Linked DNA regions of Homo sapiens: all the other regions are linked to region 2. Evidence: promoter capture Hi-C in 16 types of primary human blood cells and fetal thymus (Javierre and others, 2016). All regions are on one chromosome and are shown on one strand. The core of a region is centred on a gene start or on the middle of the fragment in contact, and the rest is flanking DNA. Distances in the headings are between cores, read along the strand shown.

The links. Contacts are between HindIII fragments. The CHiCAGO score rates a contact against its expected background, and 5 or more counts as called.
Region 1: a fragment that was not itself captured here is called in contact with the fragment with the promoter of GMCL1 in region 2 in 3 of 17 cell types (naive CD8 T cells, activated CD4 T cells and total CD8 T cells); the score reaches 7.2 in naive CD8 T cells.
Region 3: a contact is called between a fragment that was not itself captured here and the fragment with the promoter of GMCL1 in region 2, in 1 of 17 cell types (neutrophils). The highest score is 5.3, in neutrophils.
Region 4: a contact is called between a fragment that was not itself captured here and the fragment with the promoter of GMCL1 in region 2, in 1 of 17 cell types (non-activated CD4 T cells). The highest score is 5.4, in non-activated CD4 T cells.

Annotation. Positions count from the first base shown.
Region 1 is chr2:69,567,885-69,574,797 of GRCh38, reverse strand. All of the region lies in intron 2 of AAK1 (AP2 associated kinase 1), which reads left to right. Among named protein-coding and RNA genes, the nearest start is that of SNORA36C, 51 kb to the right of the region's middle. The HindIII fragment of the contact is 4,994 bases long and covers 1,529-6,522 here.
Region 2 is chr2:69,823,786-69,831,256 of GRCh38, reverse strand. It overlaps GMCL1 (germ cell-less 1, spermatogenesis associated), which reads right to left and starts at 1,597. Exons shown (of 14, transcript NM_178439.5): 1 at 1,105-1,597. The coding sequence starts at 1,364. It overlaps LOC124906021 (a long non-coding RNA gene), which reads left to right and starts at 1,726. Exons shown (of 2, transcript XR_007086846.1): 1 at 1,726-3,243; 2 at 4,479-5,515. ANXA4 (annexin A4) reads right to left here. Exons shown (of 13, transcript NM_001153.5): 13 at 4,145-5,801. The coding sequence ends at 5,742. RefSeq lists silencers at 933-1,108, 1,056-1,135, 1,516-1,745 and enhancers at 719-1,639, 2,156-2,245, 1,640-2,561. The HindIII fragment of the contact is 7,336 bases long and covers 1-3,558 here.
Region 3 is chr2:70,126,044-70,133,455 of GRCh38, reverse strand. No RefSeq gene overlaps it. Among named protein-coding and RNA genes, the nearest start is that of LINC01816, 4.4 kb to the right of the region's middle. The HindIII fragment of the contact is 2,621 bases long and covers 4,825-7,412 here.
Region 4 is chr2:69,519,375-69,526,542 of GRCh38, reverse strand. It overlaps AAK1 (AP2 associated kinase 1), which reads left to right. Exons shown (of 22, transcript NM_014911.5): 10 at 1,431-1,510; 11 at 5,555-5,709. SNORA36C (small nucleolar RNA, H/ACA box 36C) reads left to right here and starts at 6,372; the gene lies at 6,372-6,499. The HindIII fragment of the contact is 3,789 bases long and covers 1,454-5,242 here.

The DNA.
Region 1 (6,913 bases), core at 2,776-5,275, 260 kb after region 2:
AGGTCTTGCTATGTTGCCCAGCTGGTCTTTAACTCCTGGCCTCAGGAAATCCTCTCGCCTCAGCCTCCAGAAGTACTGGGATTATGGGCATGAGCCACCATCCCCGTCGTGTACATTTAATGTTCAATATTTTACTAGCTATAGAATGTTCTTTCGTATAAACAAACTATTTTTTTTTAAGCCAAATATCTCTCTCTCTCTCTTATTTTTTTAAGGCAATGGGCTCTTGCTATGTTGCCCAGGCTGGAGTGCAGTGGCTATTCACAGGTGGGATCATTGTGCACTGCAGCCTTGAACTCCCTGGCTCCAGCGATCCTCCTGCCTCAGCCTCCCAAGTAGCTGGGACTACAGGCATACACCACCATGCCCAGCCCCAATCTCTCTCTCTTTCTCTTCTCTTTTTTTTTTTTTTTTTTTTTTGAGAGGGAGTCTTACTCTGTCACCTAGTCTGAAGTGCAGTGGTGTGATCTCTGCTCACTGCAGCTTCCGCCTCCCGGATTCAAGATTCAAGCAATTCTCCTGCCCCAGCCTCCCGAGTAGCTGGGATTACAGGTGTGCACCACTATACCCAGCTAATTTTTGTATTTTTAGTAGAGATGGGGTTTCACTGTTGGCCAGGCTTGTCTCCAACTCCTACTCCTGACCTCAAGTGATCCACCTCAGCCTCCCAAAGTGCTTGGGATTACAGGCTTGAGCTACCATGCCTGGCTCTAATCTCTTTTCATTGGGCATTTAAGTGACTTCTATTTTTTATGTTTATAGTTTTTTTGTCTTGACTTTATTTTTATTTTTATTTTTATTTTGAGATGGAGTCTTGCTCTGTCACCCAGGCTGGAGTGCAGTGGCATGATCTCAGCTCACTGCTCTACCCTCCAAGTTCAGGCGATTCTCCTGCCTCAGCCTCCCAAGCAGCTGAGATTACAAGCACCCGCAACCACGCCCAGCTAATTTTTGTATTTTTAGTAGAGACGGGTTTCACTATGTTGGCCAGGCTGGTCTCGAACTCCTGACCTCAAGTGATCTGCCTGCCTCGGCCTCCCAAAGTGCTGGGATTACAGGTGTGAGCCACCAAACCTGGCCTGTCTTAACTATTTTTGTACATACTTTGTGGATATTTCAGGTTATTTCCTTAAGATGGATTCCTAGAAGTGGAATTTAGGAGTTGAAAGATCTCTTGGGTTTTTATGCATATTGCCACATTGCTTTCCAGGCACACGCCAGCCAACATTCTACCAGAGGTCTTTCTGCCTCACTGAGACTACTTGCCGATGCAGCTTATGGATTACTCAGCTCCCATTCCTTTCCCTCTTCTCAATATTTTTTGACATGTAGCCTTACCACTAGCATTAGATACTTGGGTGGAATGCTTCTCGTCTTCCTTCCAGGTCAGGTGGGATTCCCTGTTCTTCTTCAGAGCTACTTTTCCTCCTTGTTTTAGCATATATCTTGTCTAAACCGTGTGACACCTTGGTTTGTCCTGGTGCCCTGTCCTGGCTTCTGAATGAATGAGCACTTTCCTAATTAAGCTTCAGATATTTTTTCCTTAGGCTTCTGACTGCTCTGCACTGACCTCGTGGCCTCTCTCTTCAACCCTTTGTTGAGGCCCCCAAGACTCTGGTTATGGAAGACCCACCTTCCTCCCCAGCCCACATTCTGTCTCTGTTCTGTTTTGCCTGGTACCCATTTATTATCAATCTAGTTGATGAGTTTATACTCATTTGGTTTTTAGGTTGTTAATGCTAGGTCTCTGCTTCAGGGAAGCTGGGTTTCTTTATGTTTTATTTGGAGCCTGAGTCAAGTCTGATCTCAGCTTTGTCCAAGAGGGCTGAGTCGGCCATCCCTGGAGCTTACTGCATCGCTGGAGCTTCCACTGAGAGCCAGAAACTGACTCCTCAGTTTTGTTTCTCTTCCTATTACCCAGCTCTCACTTCCTTGGAGTCACTAGGTTTCTGTTTACCCGGAGGAATGTCTTGACCTCTCAGGTCTTTTGGAAGCACAGTGAGAGGACGACAGAGAGATCAGTGCCTGGGCAGACTTCTCTCTTGTGCATACAGCATTTTCACACAGCCAGGACTGGGGTGAGCCACTCGCCTCAAGTGCAGAATTTAAGGGGCACTCAAGACTCAGTAATCAAGATAAAGAATATTTGTATGCTTTTTTTTTTTTTTTTTTTTTTTAAAGACAGAGTTTCGTTTTTGTTGCCCAGGCTGGAGTGCAGTGGCATGATCTCGGCTCACTGCAACCTCTTCCTCCCGGGTTCAAGGGATTCTCCTGCCTCAGCCTCCCGAGTAGCTGGGATGACAGTTGTGTGCCACCACACCTGGCTAATTTTTGTATTTTTAGTAGAGACAGGGGTTTCTCCATGTTGGCCAGGCTGGTCTCGAATTCCTCACCTCAGGTGATCTGCCCACCTCGGCTGGGATTACAGGTGTGAGCCACCATGCCTGGCCTCAGTTTTTTAAAAATAAAAATTAATGCAAACAACCATGGTGAACAAAATATTAGAATTTAAAATAAAGACAGGATCAGTAACAGTGTTGTGCTCAGCCACCCTGCAGCCCAAGACCAAGAAAAAATCAGTAATTCTGAGTCTGTCCCTTTGTGCTCAGGGCAAGTGCCTCACTCCCCTCACCCTAGTCCTGACCCTGGTTTCACACCAAAGGTGGAGTAAGTTTTCCCCTGATGTAATTCAGTTCATCAGTTGGTGCTGGCATGCTCCTTGGTCCTTCTTGGAAACTTACCTTCTTCACAGGCCTTGCCAGGTTTGTCTGTGGCTGGGCTTTTATTTCATCTGATATGAAAGACTCCAGCCTGTGTTTCCTCCCGTTTGAGGGCTTAATCCTCTTCTCTGTGATTGCTTTCTGATAATCCCAGGTGAAAACCATCTTCACAACATTCCCAGGTAATGAGTGCTCTGAGTGGCAGAGATCTTGGCTCCTGTCCTCCCTAACACTGATCCGTCAGCTCAAGAAAGGTAACAGTGCAAGCCATGTACCCCTGTCCACTTCTCTGTGTCTGTCCTTTCCCAAATAGGTATTTGACCATTTTTCTTCCTTGGTCTCAGTATACTAATGCAAGTACTGTTTTAATGTAAATCTAGTCCTTATCTTAAAAATTCTAACTCATCAAGTGTAATTTTTAGTATTATATTTTAACACTCTGTTCTGGGTAGTTTCTATTAAAGCCTGTAATTGTTAAAATTATTGAAACTCATATTATTGAGCTCATATGTTCTACAGACATATTGGTGCAAGGTGACTTAGAGTCATTGGGTGCAAGGAACAGAAATTTAATTCAGATTAGATTAAGTAAAAAGGAGTGTATTGGATAAGTACAAGGGAACCTCCCAGAACCCAACAGCAGGAAGTGAAGCTAGATTTTGTGGGTGTTGGAAGTTACCAGGTCTTTCTTCTGTCTGCCTCTCTGTCTGTCTCTCTGGAACACACATGGCTGACAGTAGCAGCCATCAGCCTAGTCTACATGGTTGTGTAGCACCATTTGATTACAGTTCCTAGGTCATCACTTCGGATTCTCAAGGGAGAATGCACTCCAGGTGTCCTCTCCTGGTCCAGTTAGCTGTGGGAGGGAAAGAGGATCACTTGACATAATACATCTCTAATCATTATTTTAGCATAGGGTGAAGAGTATGATAAACTAGGCCAATGTGTTTCGTACAATGAATAAAAATAAAATCCTTGCCCTGTGAGAGAATATAGTCCTAGCAAGAAAGACTAGAATGCATACAAGTGGGATATAATCAGGGTAAAAAAATCAAGGTGGGCATGGGGGTGGGCATTCTGTTGGGTGAAAGTTCACAGAGAAGTCCTGGTTTGATCTACACCAAACTTAGAGCTGTGAGTTTACCAGTTAAAGAGGGGATGGACATTCCAGTACAGGGTACATACAGAAAAGCACAGAGGCATCAGAGAACACTGGCCAGGCACTCTCAGGAGTTCACTGTGGGTTCCAGATTATGATTGGCCTTGTACATCATATTAAGAGATTTAATCTTGTAGATGATCAAGAGCTAGAGGAGAATTATAAGTAGGGAAGCAACATGATTGGATGTGCTATTAATTTGCCAAACATCTATTAATCATCTACCACGTGCTAAGCACTGTATTAGCCCTGAGGATTCCAAGATAAATAAGAAGCTCTCCTTGCTAGTTTTATTTTCTTTGGTGACTCATTTTTCAGGTGCCCTACCTAGAGAACAGCCTAGAATGTTGTTTTTATAGGTTCACAGTATCCAAAATCCTTACACTGGTAGGAATAACAAGTATCATTTCTACGGCAGAAAAGAGTGGTTCCCTCTTTGCCTTGTCTGTCTAGTGGAGAGATTAACACATCCAAGATAATCACAATACATTATGATAAGTGCAACAAAATAGAGCTTCAGGCCACATGTATGGTAATCTGAAAATTTGGGTGACTGGCAGGGACAGGGAGGACTTTGCAGAAGAGGTGTTATTTTAACAATTGTAAACTCATTTTGTCAAGCAGAAGACTGAGACAGGATATTCCAGGCAGAGGAAACAGCATGTGTGAACCTCCTGAGAATAAAGCAGCAAAAAGGTTAAAGTTCTGAAAGTTTGTTGGGTTGGGAGGAGCAGAGGTGAGGAAGAGGGAGTATTGAGAGATGAGGCTGAGTGAGGAAAGGGCAATATTCAAATTATAAAGGGACTGGAACTGTCATACATTTTTGGTGGGAGTATACAATGGTACAATCACGTTGTTGGTATAAGAAAAGCTCTGTCACTTTCTTATAAAATTAAACATATACCTATCCAGTGACCCAGCACTTCTACTCTTAGGTATTTACCCCAGAGAAATAAAAATATGGCACAAAAAGACTTGTACAACAGTGCTCTTAGAGCTTTCTTTATAACAGCCCCAATCTGAAATAACCCACGTGTCCATCCGTAAGGGAGAGGACAAACAGATTTATTCAAATAATGAAACACTAGTCAGCAATGAAAATTAACAAACTACTAATACATTCAACAACATAAACAATTATGATGAGTAAAATATCCTTACACAAAAAAGCACATACCATATGAGTCTATTTTTCTGAAGTTCTAAAGTAGGCTAAACTAATAATACATGAAAACAATCAGAACAGCGGTTGCCTATGGGAGGATTTGGGTGGGATTGTCTGGAAAGGGGCCTGAGGGACTTTGTGTGAGATGGAAAGATTTTATATTTTGATGGGGGTTTGGGTTACCTGAGTGTGTTCACTTACCAAAACTCATCCAATAGCACACTGAAGATTTGTACATTTCACTGTAAATAAATTTTATTTACCCTCATCCCCAAAAAGAATGATGAACCCTGAATACTAAAGATATGTATGCTGAAGTATTTAGGGGGAAGTGCACTGAGGTTTGCAACTGACTGGGAAATGCATCAAAAATGAGATGAGTTGATGTTTGGATAGATGGATGATAAACAGCTGATAAAAGAAGTATAGCAAAATGTTAATACTTGTAGATTCTACAAGTGGTGGGTGTATGGATGTTTGCAGTTTGATCTTTTCAACTTTACTGTATGTTTGAAATTTTTCATAATAAAATGGGGAAACGTATAAAGGCTCTTATATTCTGCTGCATTAAGGAATTTGGACTTTCCTCTGGCTCGAAGGGACTAATGAATGCTTTTAAGAGGAGTCATTCCATACAAGTTTTAGAAAGAGACTGGAGGCACAGAAACTTATGACTCTATTTTAGTTTTTCAGTAAGAAAAGAGGAAGGCCTGAGCTAAGGGGCATCAGGGGTGCAGTAGAAGGGATGGATTCTGGGTTTGGGGATAGAATTCTTAAGACTCAGTGAAATCAACTTGGCAATGGTGGGAGTTGGGGTGGGGAGGATATTGTGAGCTGGTGCCCAGTCCTGATTGAAGGACCACGACCTAGGGGCTGATGGATGACAGTTGTGTGGTCAGATAGCCTGAATGTCAGAGGAAAGGCTTTAACACGAAGTTAAGTTAGAATGCTCTGTAACTAATGGTTGGGAGCTAAGAAAACGTCAGCCTGCTTTCCAGCATGAGAGCCCATCTTTCAGAACATAGGAGGGTCAGGGCAGAATAGGATGACCTGGAAAAAGTAGTTGTGTCTGGAGACCAGTTCTAAGGAAACCTAAAGAGTTGAAAACAAGCCTGGGCAACATAGCAGGATCCTGTCTCTACAAAAAATTTAAAAATTAGTTGGGTGTGGTGGCATGCACCTCTAGTCTCAGCCACTTGGGAAGCTGAGCTGGGAGGATCACTTGAGCCTGAGGGTTCAAGGCTTCAGTGAGCCATGATTGCACCACTGCACTCCAGTTTGGGTAACAGAGCGAGACCCTGTCTTAAAAAAAAAAAAAAAAAAAAAAAGTTGAAAACATTTATATACCTTTGATGCCAGTGCGTATTCCATAACCTGGCTACTAAACTCACATCATTACACTAGAAAGTGCTCAGGATTCACAGTTACTTAACCCGATCTTTCTACAAAAGCAGTAAGTGTGGAAAACTGTGTAAGCTTTGAAGCATGAAGTTGAACTGGAATGTTCTCGAATTAACATTTGGGAGCTGAGAGAATGTCAGCCGGAACTTCAGCTTTGCTGAGTCTCCCATTCTCTTTTGGAGAATGTAATCCACTAACATATGGTGTCCTGGTTGAAATGATCAGAGCCACAGCTTGAAGGTCTGTAGCATGGGTGGGGACTGACACATGTGAGCACCGATGCTGCTCCCTCCGGCTGACCTCTGCTGCTCTGTTTGCTCATCACTTACTAGGAGATTGTGGCCCCGGTGGATTAGAGGGATGAGCACAATTTATGCCCAAGAGGCTCTCCATTCCTTTAGGCAAGGGATGCTTCAGGATCGAGCATGGGGTGTTTCATTTCTTTTCCCTCTCAACTGAAGAGCGTTT
Region 2 (7,471 bases), core at 348-2,847:
AAACCTTTTTGAATCTGCTTTTAAAGTTTAATTTTAGGCCGGGTGCGCAGTGGCTCACGCCTATAATTCCAGCACTTTGGGAGGCTGAGGCCAGCAGATCACCTGAGGTCGGGAATTTGAGACAAGCCTGGCCAACACGATGAAACCTGTCTCTACTAAAAACAGAAAACATTAGCCAGGCGTGGTGGTGCGCGCCGGTAGTCCCAGCTACTCGGGAGGCTGAGGCACAAGAATCGCTTGAACCAGGAGGTGGAGGTTGCAGTGAGTTGAGATCGCACCACTGCACTCCGGCCTGAGTGACAGAGCAAGGCTCTGTCTCAAAAAGAAAAAGAAATCATTTAAAAAATTTCATGTGTGACCCTACCAAATAACCTTTAAAAACAAAAGCAGAAAAACCAAATTGTTTGTGTAAGCATATATTCTACCTATAAACTACATTCCAGGTCACAAGTCAATATTCCATCTTTCAACTCATCCAAAAAAAAAAAAAAAAGGGGTTAAACAAGCTGCAGCAGCACCGCCCTACATACAGTACATCCACGGTCAACGACTTCATCAACTACTAGAAACTTGCACAGACTCTGTTCCTAGTTAGGAACAAATGTACACTATTGATAAACTTCACCTTTACAATTAACAAGAACTCCTGTGTGCAATTACTTACCCTCCACTGAGTGGGCGACAATAAGAGTGCCTATTTCAGAGATTACATTTAGTGTCTGTACTAAGGCAACCGGATGCAAAACAACTTACTCTGCGGCTACCCACTTGAGAGGGCAAAGGTGGACTGGGAAGGCCAGCCAGCCGGGCGTCTCTAAGGTTTAACGAGACGCGAGCTCGGGCTTGGCGTTTCTCATCCTCATCTTGGGGCTGTAACAACACCCTGGAAGCGTCTGTGGTTGAAAATGCGGAACACCTGGCGTCTCCCAAGGCGCTCCCCAGTCCGCCCCGCATCGGGCCGGCTTCCACATTCACCCTGTCAAGGGCACGTCCCCTCTCCATAGGCTGGGGAGCGCTGCACCCCGCAAGCGCACGAGGCGCCGGCTCGGCCCCAGGCCCAACAGGTGCGGGTCCGGGTCCGCGCGGGTGCGTGCCCCCACGTACCTTCGAGGGGTGTTGAGGAGCCGCTGCTGCTCGTCCCCCTCCTCCTCATCCTCGTCCGTCTCCGAGTCAGGGTGACAGTAGCAGAAGGACCCGCTGCTCCGCTTGCGCTTGTGGCTGCCCGCACAGTAACAGAATCCGTGGCCCGCCGCATCGTCTCCAGTGTCCGGCCTCCGGGCCGAGCCCCCCGCCCTGGCACCCTGCGCCTGCTGGGCAAGGGCTGGTCTTGGCTGGCGCAGCACCCGGCTGCTCAACGATCCCATGGGTCACGGCTCCCCGAGACTTCAGGGAGCCCAGAGAAGGGGGTCTCCCGCCATGGCTCGGCCGCCGCCGCCAGCCTTCCCCGAGCGCAGGTGCCTACACCGCCACCTTCTCACGCGCAGCCCCAACCGTTGCAGCGGACGCCACAGTCTCCATCCTCTTCCCCGCCCGCAGCGTCCGGTCGCGCCGCGCTCTAGCACCGCAGCACCTCGCCCCCTCGCTTTCGCAACAAAGCGCGGGACGGAGGGCGCATGCGTACGGCGAGCCTCCGGAAGGGGCGGGGCAAGGCGTGCGTGCGTGGCAGGTGGAGCCTGCGCACAATCCGGCGCGCCAGTGCAGGCTGGTGTTTTCGGGCCTGCGGTGGGCGTGGCCTCTGACTAACCCGAACTTCGGCGTAGACGTAGTGTTAAACCGTGGTTCATACGCGCCTCTGTAGTGGCAAGACCTGGGACTCCAGTCACTCATTGTTTCTACAAAGGTGCCTTGAGTCCCCGGTGCTTATGGGCCTGTGCTAAGCTAGTGGCAAAACCCCGAAGCTATTTGGTCTCCTTGCGGGAGCTCGGCGCTTGCTGGGGCCACGCTCTGCTTGCTTGGGCGTGGCCTCCTGTGAGAGGGGGCCCTAGGATGAGGCGATATGCTGGATTCCTGGGCTTCCTTAACATGAGCCCTCCCCTGCTGTAGACGTGAATGGAACCCGTTAAGTTATGGGAACGTTCCCGGCACTCCTTTCCTTTCCTCTCAAGTGCCAGTGGGATGTCCGAATAGGGTCTGGCACCATGACTGTCTGGACTCAAAAGTGCCTTCAGGAGGCCCTAGCAAAATTTACTAGTGTCTGCTTGGAGTAGTAGCAGCTCTTGTGATGGACTCCGGACAGCCAGCGTTCATTCCCTGACTCCCTTCTGTTACTTTTTAAGTAAAATAATGAAAATATTTCAAATAGAGTAATACAGATTCCTGTGGACCGACCACTAGCTTGAAATTTTATCAGACTTGCTTTCATTCTTTTTTCCTCCCAGCTTTATTGAGGTGTAATCAATGATTCATTCTTTTTTAAATAGAACAATACATATAGGCAGAAGCCCCTGCGTACCTCCTCCATCTCATTCTGTCTCCCTCCCCAGTGGCAATCACTGTGCTGAGAATGTTGTATATCATGTCCATGCATGTCCTTATATGCATACCCATAAATAATATTTTCTTTTGCATGTTTAGACATATCATGGAATGGAATCATAGTTGTACCTCTCATTGTGCACCTTTCTCCTCTCTCAAAATTATACTCTCAAGATTTATCCATTTGGTCAATCGCTAGATAATTTTCACTGCTCATTGTATGACTGACCCATATTTGTTTTTACATTCCTTAGTGAGAGAGGTTATTTCTACTTTAACGGCCTTACAGAGCAGCAATGAACATCATGTGCAATGGATTCACCAAGCAGATTCCCAAAAGTGAATTTGCTGCGAAATCTGCAACTTTGTTAGCTATTACCAAATTGCTCTCTGGGTTGATTGCATCAAGGTACCAATTTAGACTCCCATTGGCAGTATACGTAGTTTGAGGGTCCCCGTGGACTAATGTCTGATTCATGCATGAGAAATCTGAACCGAGAGAGGCTAGCCGAGGCAGCTTGGGGTGGAGGTGGGAGGCGGAGAATAATGGCTGCAGAGGGATCAGCTTGCATACACAGAATTTGCCAGCACAAAGAACGTGCAGGTGTTTCCCATGGAGCAGATGTGGACCACCATGAGACAGCTTAGGTCCTGCCCAACAGGCCTGGGAGGAAGGCAATGAACTTCAGCACTGAGAACCTCAAAGAGTCACCAAATTCCTAGAGGCTGAAAAAGGAGTACACATTTGCCTTGCCAGAGGAACCTCAGGTGAGTAGCGTGATGAGGTTGACAAAGGAACCCACAAGAATGCCCACAAGAATCAACTTTAGTCTGTCAGGGTCACATAGGGCTGATCCTCTACCACCACAGCAATGACAGTCAGGTAACAACTTTCCTGCTCCCCTTAACTCTCTTCTTTGCTACAACCCAGACATGGTAGGTTGGGGCAGGGGGAGAACATTGAAGGAAACCTAGGTGGAAAAAGAAGAGAAGCCCATGGTCTCCCTTTCCCCAGAAACCAGCTTCCTACTTGCAATAGGCCAGAGGTGAGTGAGGGAAGAAGCATCAACTGTAAATCAAGCTTGCAATTTTGACTGGATATATTACTTACTAAAATGACACTGTTTTATGACCTTAAGGGACTACACAGTAGGACTTTAAAACCTAAGAGTGAACAGAAAAGTCATGACTCTATCTGAATTTACATCTGAAGAAGGGGAAGAACTGCCCACTGAATAAATGTAAGTGGACAGTGGGAGGGAAAAACAAACATAATTATATCTCAAAGTCATGCTAATTCAATATGACAAACATTCGTCCAGGGTGACTTTATCCCACCTTCTAGAAATCTTCTGGTGAATCAATGCTATTTGTTTTAAAATTTTGGCTAAGCTACATATCATTTAAAGATAAAACTTCTACCAAAAAAATCACCATGCTTCCAAAGACAAAGCTGATGTGGAGATTCTGTGGTCTTCTGGGAAGGCATTGAAGTGGTAGTATTATTTCCTGTAAGTAACTGGAGTGACTAAATATTCACATAAGTAGCTTCTACCAGTAGCTGTAGCTTTTATAATAAACAACACTAAACTAAAAAATTCTTATTATTTCACTCACCAAAATACAATGGATGCTATAAAATCAACAAAAAAGGCAAGTATTCCCACTATAAGAATATGAATGTCCTTTATACATTTATGATATTTAATATAAATGGTCTACTTAGAGCAGAGGGCATCACTCATTTCCAGAGAATAAGTTCATACATTATTTTATGTTATTGAGTAGTGTTTGGCATATGTGAACATTAGCCAGTAGGCACGCATAAGACTAAATATGATTTTTTTTTTCTTATCTTGTAATTCCTGTAGAAACTGAGTAACACAAGTCCTTCAAAAATAGCTCCTTTCAGGGGCCAAGATGAAAAACCTCAGAAGGTGAAAAGTGGATCAGAGAAAGACTATACCTCACTTTAAAGACACTTTTTTTTTTTTTTTTTTTAGATGGATTCTCGCTCTGTCGCCCAGGCTGGCGTGATCTCGGCTCACTGCAACCTTTGCCTCCTGCCTCCTGGGTTCAAGCAGTTCTCCCTGACTCAGCCTCCGAGTGGCTGGGATTACAGGCACCAGCCACCACACCCGGCTAATTTTTATATTTTTAGTAGAGATGCAGTTTCTCCATGTTGGCCAGGCTAGTCTTGAACTCCTGACCTTAGGTGATCCACCCGCCTTGGCCTCCCAAAGTGTTGGGATTACTGGCGTGAGCCCCCGCCCCCGGCCTAAAAACACCATTTTTAAATTAAAATTATTTTTCCACGTTCTTACAAAGTGAACTTTTTAATTAAATCCAAGTACATCTTCAGAATGTTTCTGGAGTTGAAAGGCACAGTGCAAATAGAAATTACTACAATCAACAAAATTGATTTTAAAAAGTATTTTTAGCACAAAAAAGTTTTCTTTATATCATACTAAATTCAGAGCATTACATCATTCCCAGAATACCTAGTTTGAAGCTTATTTTTTTTTCCATTCACTTGCAAGCTGGATTAAGACATTAACTATAATAATATGGAATGTTCAGCATTTATGTTTGGTAACCAGATGTATATGGTTTGTATAACCATACTTTAGAATTTAGTTCAGATAAATTGGTTTTGGTATACTTTGACTACAGAAAGTGATTTCAACATAAGATGTGATGAAGGAAGTCTCCCATGAAAAACTTAGTAAGGATCAACTGATGCTATGGACAAAACCTAAAAAAAGAGATTTGTAGATGCTTTCAAGGCTTTGACTATGAAATATAGAAAACTGGATGGGCATTCTTACTGACCGGATGCTTACAATTTCAAATGAAGAAACTACTAGCCACTCTAAAAATTGGATTAGGGAAAAAAGTGATTTTAGAACAGTCTTCCATTTAAAAAATTTTTCACTGAAAAGAAAATATGGAATAATTTAATATATTCAATGTCTGTGAAACACAAAGTAGAAAGTAATCTTTTAAAAACATGGAATACATATTTATTTCTACTTTAAAATCTCCATTTATATCTTATAAGCTTTGAAATGCAAGTACAGCTTTAAAGCATCATAATGACTAATTATAGGTGAATAATAATACAGACAGTCTATATTCTAGGAGGCAGCTGTAGGCGTTTTAATTGGAAATAAGCATTCTGAGATAATGATAATAGCAGTGTAGAAAAATGAAGTTAAAAAAATTCAAAGTGTTGAGAATCCTCCTGTCCTTCTGGGATTTTTATTTTAATCATCTCCTCCACAGAGAACAAGCAGTACTTTCCTGTAGTCTCCAGATGTGTCACCCTGTTCGATAGGGAAGCAAAGTTAGATAAATAGATTTTAAAATGAAACACACAGTTCAAAGTCATCTAAGCCAACTTTTTCAAGCTTGGCTGGATTTTTCTTAGCTTTAAATTTTTTTTGTTATTTTTTATTACGAAGGTAATACTTATTCAGTGTAGAAAATAAAGACAAAAAAGAACACAAAAATCAACCATTATTCCATCATCTAGAGACTACTATTCTTACCGTTTTGATGTGTGAATGTCCTTCCAGTCTTTTTTCTATGTATCTAGATACCCAATGTGATAGAACAGTAGTATTCTGTGTTCTGCTTTTTCACTTAACAATATAGCCTATTTCCCTATTTTGTTCATTTTTGTTTGTGGTTTTTTTTTTTTTTTTTTTTTTTTGAGACAGAGTCTTGTTCTGTCACCCAGGCTGGAGTGCAGTGGCGCCATCTTGACTCACTGCAAGCTCTGCCTCCCGGGTTCACGCCATTCTTCTGCGTCAGCCTCCTGAGTAGCTGGGACTACAGGCGCCTGCCACCATGCCCGGCTAATTTTGTTTTTGTATTTTTAGTAGAAATGGGGTTTCACCATGTTAGCCAGGATGGTCTTGATCTCCTGATCTCATGATCTGCCAGCCTTGGCCTCCCAAAAAGTGCTGGGATTACAGGCGTGAGCAACCGTGCTAGGGCCCTATTTTGTTAAATATTATTCTACAACATTATTTAATGGTTACAGAATATCCCATTGTATGCAGGTAAAATAATTTATTTGATCACATCCTCCCTCTCCCTATTGTTGGATATTTACGTTGTTTCAATTTTTCACTATTATAAACACTGCTTCAATAAGCATATTGTAGTTACATTTTTGTATATTTTCTTAATGATTTATTCTGGATAAATTTTCATAAAATGGGAATTACTGGACTAAATGCATTTTCTTAAACCTTTTTTTTTTTTTTTTTCTGAGACGGAGTCTCGTTCTGTGGCCCAGGCTAGAGTGCAATGGTGCAATCCTGGCTCACTGCGACCTCCGCCTCCCAGGTTCAAGTGATTCTCCTGCCTCAGCTGCCTGCGTAGCTGGCACTACAGGTACACACCACCACGCCTGGCTAATTTTTATTTTTTTAGTAGAGACAGGGTTTCACCATGTTGGCCAGGCTGGTCTTGAAGTCCTGACCTCAAGTGATCCACTCACCTTGGCCTCCCAAAGTACTAGGATTACAGGTGTGAGCCACCGCACCCAGCCTGTTTTCTTAAACATTTTGATATGGGTTACAAAACAGTCTTCCGGAAAGGTTCTATAATTTCTGCATATAAATTTTTGTGGTCTAATAATTGATTAATTTTTTAATCTTTAATTTTATTTATTTATTTTTATTATATTTTTAGAGACAGGGTCTTGCTCTATCACCCAGGCTGGAGAACAGTGGTGTGGTCATAGCTCACTGCAGCTTCGAACTCCTGGGCTCAAGTGATCCTCCCACCTCAGCTTCCCAGAATGCTGGGATTACAGGTGTGAGCCACTGCACCTGGCCTAGATTAATTTTTATTAGTCATTCGTGGGGACTAGAAAAGATGGAATCTCTGTATATAGGGTTCAAAGTTTAATAAGTATCTGTTAAGCTCAATCTTAATATATCCTTGTTTATACTTTGCCTCATTGATGTGCCAAAGCATAGGA
Region 3 (7,412 bases), core at 4,886-7,385, 300 kb before region 2:
TGCACATTAGCCAAGGAATTCTAGCTAATGAAAGCTGAAAGCTATGACACTGTTATGACAAAATTAACACCCTGAAAGGCTAATTAATCTTATATGGATTACATTACCTAGAGTTTGAGCTTTGGCCATTATCTTTGCAGTATAAAAGCTATTTCCCCAAAACCTTAAAAAAGAGAGAAAAGAAAGCCATTCCCATAAATCATATTTCCGACACATAGCTCACCATGAAAATGTCCACAACACAGTGATATAACTGATACCTTGCAAATGGCTTTTTAAAAACAAAACAAATTAGGCCAGGCACTAATGACCTGGCTTGATGACCTGAAGGTATCCTAACATGGCTGTTAGAGATTTGAGGGCAGGGGCTGAGTCTCGGTGTTTGTTTCTGTCCCTAGCACAGGGCCTCAGACAGTGATGGATACATATTAGGTGTCGATTAACAGTCACTGAATTACTGAATGGAAATTTACTGGTGCTGACTGCACCACTAGACTCCACACACAAATAGACCTGCCCCGTGGGATTCTTCACAAGAGCAAATATTTTATGAGAGCTGTTACTCCGAGTTGATTGGATGGGCAAAGTGAAACCACAGAATTGGGCTTTAAAACCAAGTGGATTTACTCTGCTAAATTTTACAACTAGGATCTTCTGCTCTGGGTGGAGAGTTGGACAAAATAACTTCGAATTTGAGGTTTGTAGGTTCTATGAAAATACAGGCTTTTTGTTTTGTTTTGTTTTGTGTTTTAAAGACAGATGAACCCAGCAGGCAAGCTGGCAGGAAGTCTGACTGCAGTACTTGCCTGAGAGGATGACACAGGCCAAATGAGAAAAGGAAAACAACAAGGCAGCCAGAGCTAGTAAAGCACTTTGCAAAGTAGCTGCAGAGCTTTCCAGGATTTTCTGGAAAAAGGAAGAAAAGGAGAGTAAAGGGCAGGAAGAGGATTGGTTAACAACTGGATTCAGAAATGCCGATGAGTGGATTTGCCTATCGGTTTTGTTTTTCTAAGTCAGGGATAAGGAAAGAGGGTACACTTGGCCTGGCGCTGCCTGCTGGCAGGGCTTCCTTCCCCAGGCTGTGCTGAAGCCATCCTTAGAGCTGCCAGGGTGTCCTGAGGCCTGCTGCCCTGTGCAACTCACTGGAAAAGAGGACAGACTGCCCTCCAAAGATGTCTAAGGCACATGGTACAGTGGAAGGAAGGGACAGCAGTTTTGTTTAATTTCATGTTGCTTAAAAAAATGTTTATATGCATTTGCTTTTTTGAACAGATAATTTATTTATATGTTTAAAACTAAAAAAAATGAAAAGATGTACATCTCTTCTGTCCCTGTCCCCCAAATGCCCACTTTCCCCCACCCTAAATAGATAACCCTGTTATAAGGTTTTTGTTTATCCTTCTAACGTTGTTTTTCTACACATACAAGCTAAAACAAATCTATACCCTTCCTTACTCCATTTTAACATATTTAGTGCCAGTCTGTACACGTTCTACACGTTTGTTGGGTTTTTCCCCCGCTTTAACACCCTATCTTGGTGACATTTCCTTATCGGTATATGAGAGTATCCTCATTTTTATCTATCTTTGCGGCTGTAGAGTATTACATTGTATGGACTACTATAATTTAACTGGTTCCCATCAAGGGGTGTTTAGATTGTTTCCAGTCTTTTGGCATTACAAATAAAAGCATGGACTTTAGAGACATGTGCTTTCAAACCCCAGTCCCGATGCCTACTAGGTGATTGACAATGGGTCTTAATTGCCTCCTCTGTAAAGAGGAATTTTTTGTTTGTTTGTTTGTTTGAGACAGAGTTTTGCTCTTGTTGCCCAGGATGGAGTTCAGTGGCGCGATCTCAGCTCACTGCAACCCCCGCCTCCTGGGTTCAAGCAATTCTCCAGCCTCAGTCTCCCAAGTGGCTGGGATTACAGGCATGTGCCACCATGCCCGGCTAATTTTGTATTTTTACTAGAGACGGGGTTTCGCCATGTTGGTCAGGCTGGTCTCGAACTGCTGACCTCAGATGATCCACCCGCCTCGGCCTCCCAAAGTGTTGGGATTACAGGCATGAGCCACTGCACCCGGCCAGGAATTATTTTATGTTTATTTCACCTGTCCCTTAACATTGCTGTGAAAGACTCATATAATATACAAAGAACTTGAGAAATCCTAGGTGCTCAGTGGAAACAATATACCTTGCAATGAAGCATATTCAAATTTATTCTTGAAAAAAAGAATACTGATCAGGACCCCTGGCTCATGCCTGTAATCCCCACGCTTTGGGAGGCCAAGGTCTCAAGAAGGACTGCTTGAGACCAGGAATTCAAGACCAGACTGAGCAACAGAACAAGACCCTACCTCTTCAAAAGTAAAAATAAAAAAATTAGCCAGACATGGTGGCACATGCCTATAATCCCAGCTACTTGGGAGGCTGAAGCAGGAGGATCTCTTGAGCCCACTACTGCACTCCAGCCTGGGTGAAAGAGCAAGACCCTGACTCTAAAAAAAAAATGTGTTTGATTATTTTTTGAGACAGTCTTGCTCTGTCACCCAGGCTGGAGTGCAGTGATGCAATCTCGGCTCTCTGCAACCTCCGCCCTCCAGGTTCAAGTGATTCTCCTGCCTCAGCCTCCCGAGTAGCTGGGATTACAAGTGTGCAACACCACGACTGGCTAATTTTTGTATTTTTAGTAGAGACAGGGTTTTGCCAGGAGTTGGAGGTTGCAGTGAGCCGAGATCACGCCACTGCACTCCAGCCTGGGCAACAGAGCAAGACTCCTTCTCAAAAAAAAAAAAAAAATGTGGCCACTGAAAAATTGTTAACATGATTCACTTTATATTGCTATTGACAGCATCTTCTATGCACTTTCCTACATAATCATCCTTCGCTTGGGTGAAGACAGTCCGTGTGATTGCCTGAGTCTTCTCTTCTCCAGTTATATCACACTGCTTGCGCCTTTTATTTTTTATTTTTTTTCAGACGGAGTCTCGCTCTGTTGCCAGGCTGGAGTGCAGTGGCGCAGTCTCGGCTCACTGCAACCTCCGCCTCCCAGGTTCAAGCAATTCTTCTGCCTCAGTCTCCCGAGTAGCTGGTACTACAGGCACGCACCACTATGCCCAGCTGATTTTTGTATTTTTAGTAGAGACGGGGTTTCACCATGTTAGCCAGGATGGTCTCAATCTCTTGACCTTGTGATCCGCCCGCCTCGGCCTCCCAAAGTGCTGGGATTACAGGCGTGAGCCACCACGCCCAGCCTGCTTGCTCCTTTCAAATCTGTTGATATACTGAAACCTCCTGAACTGAGATCATCCCGAGACCTCACTGTCTTGAACATGCTCAGTTCCCTCCACTCTTCCTTACAGATCATTTCTCATAGAACCAAATTTTGTCATCCTTGTTGTCCACATCTCAATATTCTCCAGGTTATGGCTATCTCTATCCCTCCTGCCCTCCAAAATGAGACCACACGCTTGTAATCCCAACACTTTGGGAAGCCAAGGCAGGCAGACTGCTTGAGCCCAGAAGTTGGACACCAGCCTGGGCAATGAAGTGAGACCCCTTCTCTATCAAAAAAAAAGAAAAAGAAAGAAAACAAAATAAATTTTTAAAAAAGGGGAGACAGAATCCTCCAGAGAACCGTTGCAGATGTCCCAGAAAGGTGATGCTCCCAAGTGCACAGGGACAGAAAGTAGAATGGTGGTTGCCAGGAGCTGGGTAGAGGGGAATGAGGGAGGAGTTGTTTCATGGGTACAGAGTTTCAGTTTAGGATGATGGAAGAGTTCTAGAGATGGATGATGGTGGTGAGTGCACAACCACGTGACTATATTTAGTGCCACTAAACTACACTTAAAAAATTGGTTAAAATGGGGCCGGGCGCGGTGGCTCACGCCTGTAATCCCAGCACTTTGGGAGGCCGAGGCGGGCGGATCATGAGGTCAGGAGATCGAGACCATCTTGGCTAACACGGTGAAACCATGTCTCTACTAAAAATACAAAAAAAATTAGCTGGGTATGGTGGCGGGCGCCTGTAGTCCCAGCTACTTGGGAGGCAGAGGCAGGAGAATGGCGTGAACCCGGGAGGTGGAGCTTGCAGTGAGACGAGATTGTGCCACTGCACTCCAGCCTGGGCCACACAGCGAGACTCCGTCTCAAAAAAAAAAAAAAAAAAAAAAATTGGTTAAAATAGGGTGGGTGTGGTGGCTCAAGCCTGTAATCCCAGCACTTTGGGAGGCCGAGGTGGGTGGATCACCTAAGGTCAGGAGTTCGAGACCAGCCTGGCCAACATGGTGAAACCCCGTCTCTACTAAAAAAAAAATACAAAATTATCTGGGCATGGTGGTGGGCAGCTGTCATCCCAGCTACATGGGAGGCTGAGGCAGGATAATCACTTTAACCTGGGAGGCGGAGGTTGCAGTGAGCCGAGATTGCGCCATTGCACTGGGCAACAAGAGTGAAAACTCCATCTTGAATAAAAAAAAAAAGCATTAGTCTCTTCACCCCACTCCCCATCAAGTTTTCCCAGACTGGGCCGGGCGCCATGGCTCACGCCTGTAATCTCAACAATTTGGGAGGCCGAGGCGGGTGGATCACGAGGTCAGGAGATCGAGACCATCCTGGCTAACATGGTGAAACCCCGTCTCTACTAAAAATACAAAAAATTAGCCAGGCATGGTGGCGGGCACCTGTAGTCCCAGCTACTCGGGAGGCCGAGGCAGGAGAATGGTGTGAACCCGGGAGGTGGAGCTTGCAGTGAGCGGAGATCGCACCACTGCACTCTAGCCTGGGTGACAGTGTGAGACTCCGTGTCAAAAAAAAAAAAAGCTTTCCCAAACTGGAAAATGCATGCTGTCTTGCGGCATGGTCCTGGGCATCTGTGAGGGCCTGCACTGACCTCTGAAGTATCTCCATGTCCAAGGGAGTACAACAATAAATAGTAAATAAAAACATCATGACAGGTTGAGAGAGAGACTGTAGAAAAAATGAAAGGGCTTTTTTCATCCTTTTATGAGAAAGGGGCCCATATTTTCATTTTCCCCTGGGCCCCAAAAATTATGTAGCCAATCCTGCTGGCAGATAAAACATTCCTGAAGGAGGTAGCCAGAAGCCTAATAATATTCTGGGGGTATTGTGGCTTAAGTATGTCAGCCCTGTCCAAATGTAGAACAATGCTGGGGGCTATTTCAAGCCACGTGAAATGTCAACACCTGTGGTAAAGGACTATTAGCAAAGCTAATGTGCAGAGTCTGCACACATGACAAGAAAAAAGTCAACTTGCTAGGAGGGGTTTGTTGGCTGTTTAGCTTTATCTGGACAAGGGAAAAAGTGGGTAGAAAAGGCTCTCTGGCTAGTTCCTCCTTGAAGCAAGAACTCAGCTTGTTTCTCTGGATAGTCTGTGGTCAGATATAACAATGGAAACTTCAGGAAATCTTTATTTAAAAAGAGAAGGTATCTCCCCACACCTTCTTCAATATTAGGTGCCACCAAATTCTGGCTGTTGATCTGTTACTCAACAACAACAAAAAATGTCTTTTGTTTATTTTTATGTCTGATTCCAAGGAGAGTTGAACTTATTTAAAGTGGGTCTTTAAAAAAAATCACTTCAGATGTTTGTTTCTTTTGAATTTTCCATTGGTATTCATTTTCTTATTTATTTGCAAGCACTTCCTACATAGCAAGAATAACAACATTTTGTTTTCATGTGTGTTGCAAATAGGTTTTCCCAGTTTGCCTATTGTTTTTTAACCTTGCCCGTTTGGAATAGCTTCAAGCCACATCATCTGATGGGAATGGAGGTCACCCTAACAGTGATACTGCAATGTCACTAATTCAATAACCACCAAATTTACTGCTAATAATCGCCAACATTTACTGAACATGCACCATATGCTTCATGTGCCATTAATCCACAAAATTACCCTATAAAGTAGGTACTATTTTTAGTTTCATTTTGTAGATGAAGAAACAGAAATAGGAGAGGCTAAGTAATGTGCCTAGTTACCCAGCCTAGTAAGGGATGGAATGTGGGGCTTGAACCCAGCCCTGACTCCTAAGTCCAGTTTCCAACCCTGCACTGTCCAATACAGTGACCGCAGGTAGCTATAGAGCACTTCACATGTAGCCAGCCTGATTTCAGAGACCAAGTGTAAAAAAAAGAATGTCAGATATCTCATTATTAAAAAATTTTTTTTTCAACAGGGTCTTGCTTTGTCACCCAGGCTGGAGTGCACTAGTGTGAACACAGCTCACTGCAGCCTCAACTTCCTGGGCTCAAACGATCCTCCCACCTCAGCCTTCTGAGTAGCTGGAATCACAGGTGTGTGCCACCATGCCCAGCCTCTCATTATTAATTTAAAAATTGGCCAGGTGTGATGGCTTACGCCTGTAATCTCAGCACTTTGGGAGGCTGAGGCAGGCAGATCACCTGAGGTCAAGAGTTTTGAGACCATCCTGACCAACAAGGTGAAACTCTGTCTCTACTAAAAATACAAAAATTAGCCGGGCATGATGGCATGCCTGTAATCCCAGCCACCCGGAAGGCTGAGGCAGGAGAATCGCTTGAACCCAGGAGGCTGCAGTGAGCCAAGATCGCACCACTGCACACCAGCCTGGGCAACAGAGCAAGACTCCATCTCAAAAAAAAAAAAAAAAGTGCCTACTGAAAAATTGTTAACATGATTCTGTTTACATTTCTGTTGACAGCATCTTCTATCCACTTTCCTACATAATCATCCTTCACTTGGGTGAAGACAGTCTGTGTGATCACCTGAGTCTTCTCTTCTCTAGTTATATCAAAAGGCTTGCGCCTTTTAAATCTGTTGATAAACTGAAACCTCCTTGCTTCCTGGTTTTCTTACATGAATTGAGATCATCCCAGGACCTCACTGTCTTGAACAAGCTCAGTTCTCTCCACTCTTCCTCACAGATGATTTCTCATAGGACCAAATTTTGTCATCCTTGTTGTCCACATCTCAATATTCTCCAGGTTATGGCTATCTCTATCCCTCTTGCCCTCCAAAATGAGACCACAGGCGGGGCACAGTGGCTCATGCTTGTAATCCCAACACTTTGGGAAGCCAAGGCAGGCAGATTCCTTGAGCCCAGAAGTTGGACACCAGCCTGGGCAATGAAGTGAAACCCCTTCTCTACCAAAAAAAAAAAAGAAAGAAAGAAAAGAAAATAAATTTTTAAAAAAGGGGAGACAATCCTCCAGAGAACCGTTGCAGATGTCCCAGAAAGGTGATGCTCCCAAGTGCACAGGGACAGAAAGTAGAATGGTGGTTGCCAGGAGCTGGGTAGAGGGGAATGAGGGAGTTGTTTCACGGGTACAGAGTTTCAGTTTAGGATGATGGAAGAGTTCTAGAGATGGATGATGGTGGTGAGTGCACAACCACGTGACTATTTAGTGCCACTA
Region 4 (7,168 bases), core at 2,099-4,598, 310 kb after region 2:
TGAGGTCAGGAGTTCAAGACCAGCCTGGCCAACATGGCAAAACCCCATCTCTACTAAAAATCCTTGCATATTTTTCATGTCATATTGTGATTTATTTTTCTTAAATATTTTATTAATGGATGCTATAATAATAGATTCTGATCTGAAATGTTCTTGCTAGTTCCTCCAATAATGAACTTTTGATTTCACTGCTGGGACTTAAGGGTGCTGCTCCTCTTTCACTCTCACATTTGGAATCAGATGTGGGGTTCATCCATGTGGAGCTCAGAATATTGGCTTTATTACTAATAAGCTTGAGTCAGAAGATGCAGCTTGACCAGTCAGGCTCCCTAGCATTAGACCCACATGACTGAAATGTAAACACCTGATTCCTGGGGGACCAGCTCTTCTTTAAAGGAAGGAGGGCAAAGCAAACCGGACCAGCTCAGTTTTTCTACAGTCTTAACAGTCACAGAAGTCAACTCTTCTCCTTTGGGAGAGGAATGCTTGAAGAAGAGGAAGTGCTAGAAGTTTTCTAGCAGAAAATCTCCCCCCACCTGGAAACATGAAGGAAGCGAGAGGACCCTCCTAAAAGGCCAGTTTTATAACTAGTATTGTGTGTTGGTTTCCCAGATTAAAACGAGGGATACTGTGCAGTAACCAAACATGACTGTCTTCTTTTGTAGTCCCACTTTCCCATTCATAAAGTTAAATAATGTGAAATCTAAGTGGAAGCATTCAGATTGGTAGCTAGTTTTTTAAAAGTACACCTCACAAGTCTTATGTCATTTGGTACTCAGTAGTGGTAAGCACTTGTTTTAGGGTTAGGGACAGCTAGTTGGTGCTCCCTCATGAGGCATTATTAGATGGATAGTGCAGATTTCAAGCCAGAGGAACTCTCCTTGGCTTGTGGACTGAGTAGTGCCTCACATGTTGGGAAGGGTACTGGCTCAGCAGCCATACACAGAGGTGGCTGTGGTTTTCTCTGAGCATTCTAACTTGCAGACTCAGTGCACCCTGGTTTGACACATTGATAAGCTCGAACGAAGATCTGTCTGGGATCCAGAATAATACCAGCTACAGACATTTCCTTCCCATTCCTTTCATAGCATCACTTCTAAGCTGTGCTATAGGAGGAGAAGGGTACTGAGATCAAGCCCCAGTGACTCACCATGGTACAGAAGGTAGAGAATAATCCGGGAATGTGTGCTGCACACAAGCTACTCTCTCCTCTTCTCAGATACATTGCTTCCCTGACTGTGGCTGAGTCTGATATGCATTTGGTTAACTTTCCTTCCCTCTACCAGACAGAGCTCAGGGCCTGGAAGCTGCTCCAGAAGATCCCAAAATGTGTTTCCATCAGCTCTCAGTCCCAGTCAGGCTGCTTATTCTTTAACAAAGAAATCTGTGATGTCCTTTTGTTTTGTTCTGTTTTGTTTGCAATTCTATAGAACTCTCCCATTCCTGCAAAGCTTCCTGAACCAGTGAAAGCCAGTGAGGCAGCTGCAAAAAAGACCCAGCCAAAGGCCAGGTAAGAAATGCCTTCATGAACACATGTCCTCCTTGGATTGCCACAGCAGCAGGGAATGATGCCTGTGTTTCTTGATTCTTATGTATGCTGTCATGACCAGGGGCTGCACAGATCAGGAAAGCAAGCTCTGTCTTGCCTAGGCAGAAACGGTTCTTTGGGAATGCAAAAAGGAATATCATGAAATATTGTGATCTACATTTGAAAGAGAATCAAGAACTCTGAAGCTGTTTTCTTTGCATGGGAATAGGCTCAGGGGCATTCAGAGATGAGGCAACAGCAGACTTTAAATATTGCTAGTACGGCCAGGCGTGGTGTTTCACGTCTATAATCCCAGCACTTTGGGAGGCCTAGGAGGGTAGATCACCTGAGGTCGGGAGTTCAAGACCAGCCTGGCCAACATGACAAAATCCCATCTACTAAAAATACAAAAATTAGCTGGGTATGGTGGCACACACCTGTAGTCCCAGCTGCTTGGGAGGCTGAGGCAGGAGAATCACTTGAACCTGGAAGGTGGAGGTTGCAGTGAGCTGAGATCACGCCACCGCACTCTAGCCCGGGCGACAGAGCAAGACTCCATCTCAAAAACAAAACAAAACAAAACAAAACAAAACAAAACAAAAAAAGAATGTTGCTAGTACAAGAGTATCCTAAACATTAGGCAGGCATGGTAGCACGTGCCTGTGGTACCAACTGCTCTGGAGGCTGAGGCAGGAGAATTACTTGAGGTCAGGAGTTTGGGATCAGCCTGGGCAATACAGTGAGACCCTATCTCTTTTTAAAAAATGTAAAAAATATCCTAAACATGTGTCCTGACTTTTGGTTAGCTGCATTCACCACCCTAACACTCAACCTCCCTTTCCTTCTTACTTTCTATGGCTCCAACCACATTAGGAAAATGCAGGTCAAAGCACCAGGTCAGTGAACAGCAGAAGACTCTCTGGGTCTTAGCTAATCACAGTCTGTTCAACCTAGGTTCTTCCAAAAAGCAGATGCCAAAAGAGGATTAAACGAAGATGTTATTTGGGGAAATGCCCATGTGAGGGAAAACAGGGAGGGAGCCAGGAAAGGCTGGGAGTGCCATCGGAAGGCAATGCAAGTCTGACCCAGACAGAGGGAGAAGAAGCATGGGTGGAAGTGACCTAGACTGTCTCACAACTTAAGTAAGACTCACCAAAGGTGTTGGGGTCCTTGTGCCAGTCAGCCAGCAGATAGTCCCTCATCTCCTAGGAATTCCTGTGGGTTGGAGGTTAGGGCTGGCAGCAACCTATGGGAAGCATGGCACCAGGGCAAACACACAGCAGTGCTGCATTTAGTGCTGCATTTTGGGAATGCAGCAGCTGAGCATTGGGGTTTTATGCTCCCTGTAGATGAAGGTCTACAAAGCACTTTCGCATGGCTGCCACCCCTTCCAAATGGCAGATTCTAGAGGTAGCGCAGGAGATATTTATACTCCTCTTTTTTCTACCACCATCACGAGTAAGTGCTAGCAGCAAACTGCGTCAACAAAGTACCCTGGATGGGAATATGTGAATTTTAATTGAACAGTCAAATAACACCTGTATCTTAAAAAGTTCTTTAATATTTATTAAATGCCTGCTGTGTACATGAAGTTATTTTAGATGTGCCTCTAAAGTAGTGAGACTTTGATTTTTAATAAACGTAGCAAACTTGCTTAACAAACAAAACTTGTTACTTTGTAGTCTGTCCATTTCCTTCACTAATTCTGCCATGCTCACCTCTTTGGAAGTTGTTTTGGGGCTGATTTAAGTAGCTTAGTCCTTTGTGCTCATGGCTGTCTTGTACTAGGCTCAAACATGATATGTGCAGAGGGTAAGCAATGATCCCTTTCCCCACTCCACTCCACAAAACATACTCATTGAAGTCCATACAAACTAATATTTTGGACATTCTACAATTAATAAAACAGATTGACAGTTACTGATAACATTTGATGTTCACATCTGCCTTATGATGTAGGCATATGTTTTTCCCTTTTACACATAAAGGACCCAAAGCTGAAAGAGGGTGAGTGACATACCCATTATCACACAGTTACTTAGTGAGGAGCTAGAACTCAGATATATTTTTCTTTGGCTCCAGATCCCATTGCTCTAATATGTTCCCCTCAAGAGATGATCAACATGGAGGTTGTGCTGTTTGGGTTTCTACAGAAGCCTGCTCACCTCCCTCACCCTTGGCTTTTTCTTTTTTTCCTCTTTTTTTTTTTTTGAGATGGAGTCTTGCTCTGTCACCCAGGGTGGAGTGCAGTGGCGTGATCTTGGCTCACTGCAACCTCTGCCTCCCGGGTTCAAGTGATTCTTCAGCCTCAGCCTCCCGAGTAGCTGGGACTACAGGCGCGTGCCACCACACCCGGCTAATTTTTGTATTTTTAGTAGAGACGGCGTTTTGCCATGTTGGCCAGGCTGGTCTCAAACTCCTGACCTCAAGTGATCCACCCGCCTCAGCCTCCCAGAGTGCTGGGATTAAAGGTGTGAGCCACCACACCCAGCCAGCTTTTTCTTTCTTACACCTTTCTTCTTTTCTCCAGCACGTGTCCCATTTTTCTTCCCACATCCCTTGCCCAGGTTCTAGCCCCCAAGATGTGATAGCCTTTATATCACCACTTCCCCAACCGGCACAAGAGCATCCCTCTAACAGGTTGCCAGTGCAAAGTTTCTGGGCCCAGGATGGACCTTGGAGGTATGTCATGGGAAGGACATGAGGCCAGCTGCTTTGCTTCCTGTTTTACATTCATGGAGGCTGTTTTGGAAATATTTTGACAAAACATGCTTTGGAAATATTCTTGAAACTTATTAATTTTGGCCTAACCTCAGTTATACTCTGTAAAGTGGAGTTTCAAAGGACGGCCAACTCTGATCTGAGTTAGGTAGTAGCTAGCTGCCTGGACTACTGTAAATGAGTGGAAGTTAGCACCTGGGCTTCTGCACCCCTCACAGGGAGCAAGCAGTCTTCCCTATATTAGTTTGAAAGTGTCGATCTGGCTGTGAATTACAGAAAGTCCAAAGTGACAGCTGCGTATAGAAGATAGATGTTTATTTTTTTCTCTCAAGTAAACAAAGTCTGGAGGTAAGTAGTCCAAGGCCAGCATGGCAGTTCTGCTCCATGAGGCCCTCAGGGATCTAGACTTCTTCAAGCTAACCACATCACCATTCCTACAGTGTAGCTATGGCTGCATGGATCAATATGGCAACATCTCTGCTCCTAGCAGCAGGATCAAGGAATAGTCAAAGAGGAAGACAGAGGACTTGAACCAGTTATTTCTTATGGTTTCTGGAAACTGCCACCTGATAATCTTCTTACATCTCATGTAATGCCAGGACTTAGAAACAGGTTCACACCTGTTTTCAAAAGAGACTGGGCAATGTGATTTTTACTCTGGGTGACCCTGTGCCCAGCTAAAACTTCTGTTACTGTGGAAAAAAGATAGTATGTATATTGGAAGAAATGGAGTTTCTGTGACACTTCCTTTTTATTTTTAAACCCTTTGACTTGAATTATTTACTTTTTCCTTCCAGTTCCCATGTTGGATTCACTCATCTGCATGCTTTTCATTTTAGAGAGACCACTTTAACAGCTAGTTGCAGCCAAGTTTGAATCCTCTTCGCATCTGAAAACCATGTGCCTCAAACCTCTCTTTGCATTATTACCCAAAGGGTATTTTGGGAAATCCTAGGAGGTACTAGGTAAAAGCGCCACAAGAAGAAATAAGCTTGAGAATGCAAAGAGAATACTATATAGCATTCTTTTTGAGATTGTCCTTGCATATTCGCACATGAAAAGTTCTGCTAGAAGGAGAGCCACTCAGTATATTTTGATCAGTGTGTTAAAAATGTATTTGCCCACCAAGCCTACTTTCAGAAGGTCTAGTAACAATGGCATCCTGTGGGAGATTCTTTGGGAAGCATCGATTAAACAGACCTGGAAGGTTTGGGTCGATGTGGAAGCGGAAGCATTGTGTCCTCTGCCCACTCCCTTCCATTTTTCCCATACTTTAATATGAACCTTTCTCTTTTCCCTTTCTAGACTGACAGATCCCATTCCCACCACAGAGACTTCAATTGCACCCCGCCAGAGGCCTAAAGCTGGGCAGACTCAGCCGAACCCAGGAATCCTTCCCATCCAGCCAGCGCTGACACCCCGGAAGAGGGCCACTGTTCAGCCCCCACCTCAGGCTGCAGGTTTGTATCTAGATTGGTTTGAAACTCAATACACCTCTTTGTTATTCTGGACAACAGAGAAGTCTTGGAAAGCCTGGTTTGCTTTAGGATTGGACTCCAGAGGCACACAGAGATAACAGTGTTCCTTGAGGAACAGGAGGAAGCTGCCCTTGAAATTGTATGGCAGTGGCCGGGCGTGGTGGCTCATGCCTGTAATCCCAACACTTTGGGAGGCTAAGGCGGGTGAATCATCCGAGGTCAGTTCGATTTCGAGACCAGCCTGGCCAACATGATGAAACCCTGTTTTTCAAAAAAAAAAGTACAAAAAATTAGCCAGGCATTGTGGTGTGCGCCTGTAGTCCCAGCTACTGGGGAGGCTGAGGCAGGAGAATCGCTTGAACCTGGGAGGCAGAGGTTGCAGTGAGCCAAGACCGTGCCATTGCACTCCAGCCTGGGTGACGAGTGAAACTCCGCTTCAAAAAAAAAAAAAAAAAAAGAAAAGAATTGTATCGCAAATGGCTGGCAAAAGGAGAGGCCTCCTTGAATTCTGAGATGGATCTCCAAAACCACTAAAGCCCTTTGTCGCTTTTTCTAGACTTGGCCCTGATTTTTGCAGTTTGGAACCTTATCCTCCCTCTTTATTTCATATATTTCCCTTTGCCTTTAAAGAAATAAGACTCTTCCAAAGTGTTGAGTTCAGTCCAGGGCAGCTTCCCTGTTCTGTTAATTAAACTTTGGGACATTGAAATGGGCTAGGGGAGATGATTGGGTAGAAAGCATTATTTTATTCATTTGCCTCCCAGCCTACAAAAATGCCTGCTTGGGTCTAATACATCAACAGTTAAAGATGCCTGGAAGAGACAGGACTAAAGAGGCTGAAGAGCTTGGACTAGCAGACAACTTACTTTCAATTTTAGGAAGTTTGGGGTCTGATGGGCTGAGATACAAAGAAACTGAGTTATTTTCATACATGCCTAAAAAAAAAATAGAAACAAGACTCCTCTCTTTTGACATTCACAGAAGAATATTGTTTCTTTAATGCTTTGTCTCTTGAAGTATCTAACACCCCCTCATGTTTTGGCATTCTGTTTCTAATGAAATAAGTAAGCTTTGTTTCATAAAAAGGATTGATCCAAAATATCGAGTAACTGAACCCTACCAGGAAGCTGCTTTTGGTGAATTTGGTGGCCATCTACTTATAGCCACGCATCCAGACTGGGATAAGCTACATGTAGAACACCAGGGAATGATGTTGTCATGCTGCATGCCAAGAGGGGCAAAGCTTGTGCATATGTACCAAAGGCCAGTTGAATATGTAGACATTTGGGGTGCCAACTAAAGTTGTAATTGACTAAATGGGATGATTAATAAGGGAAGACTTTCTTAAGGAGGCAATATTGAACCTTGTTTTGAAAAATTTGAAGCACATAATTTAGCAAGAAGATAGAAAGACATTCCAGGTGGGACAGAGCATGTGGAA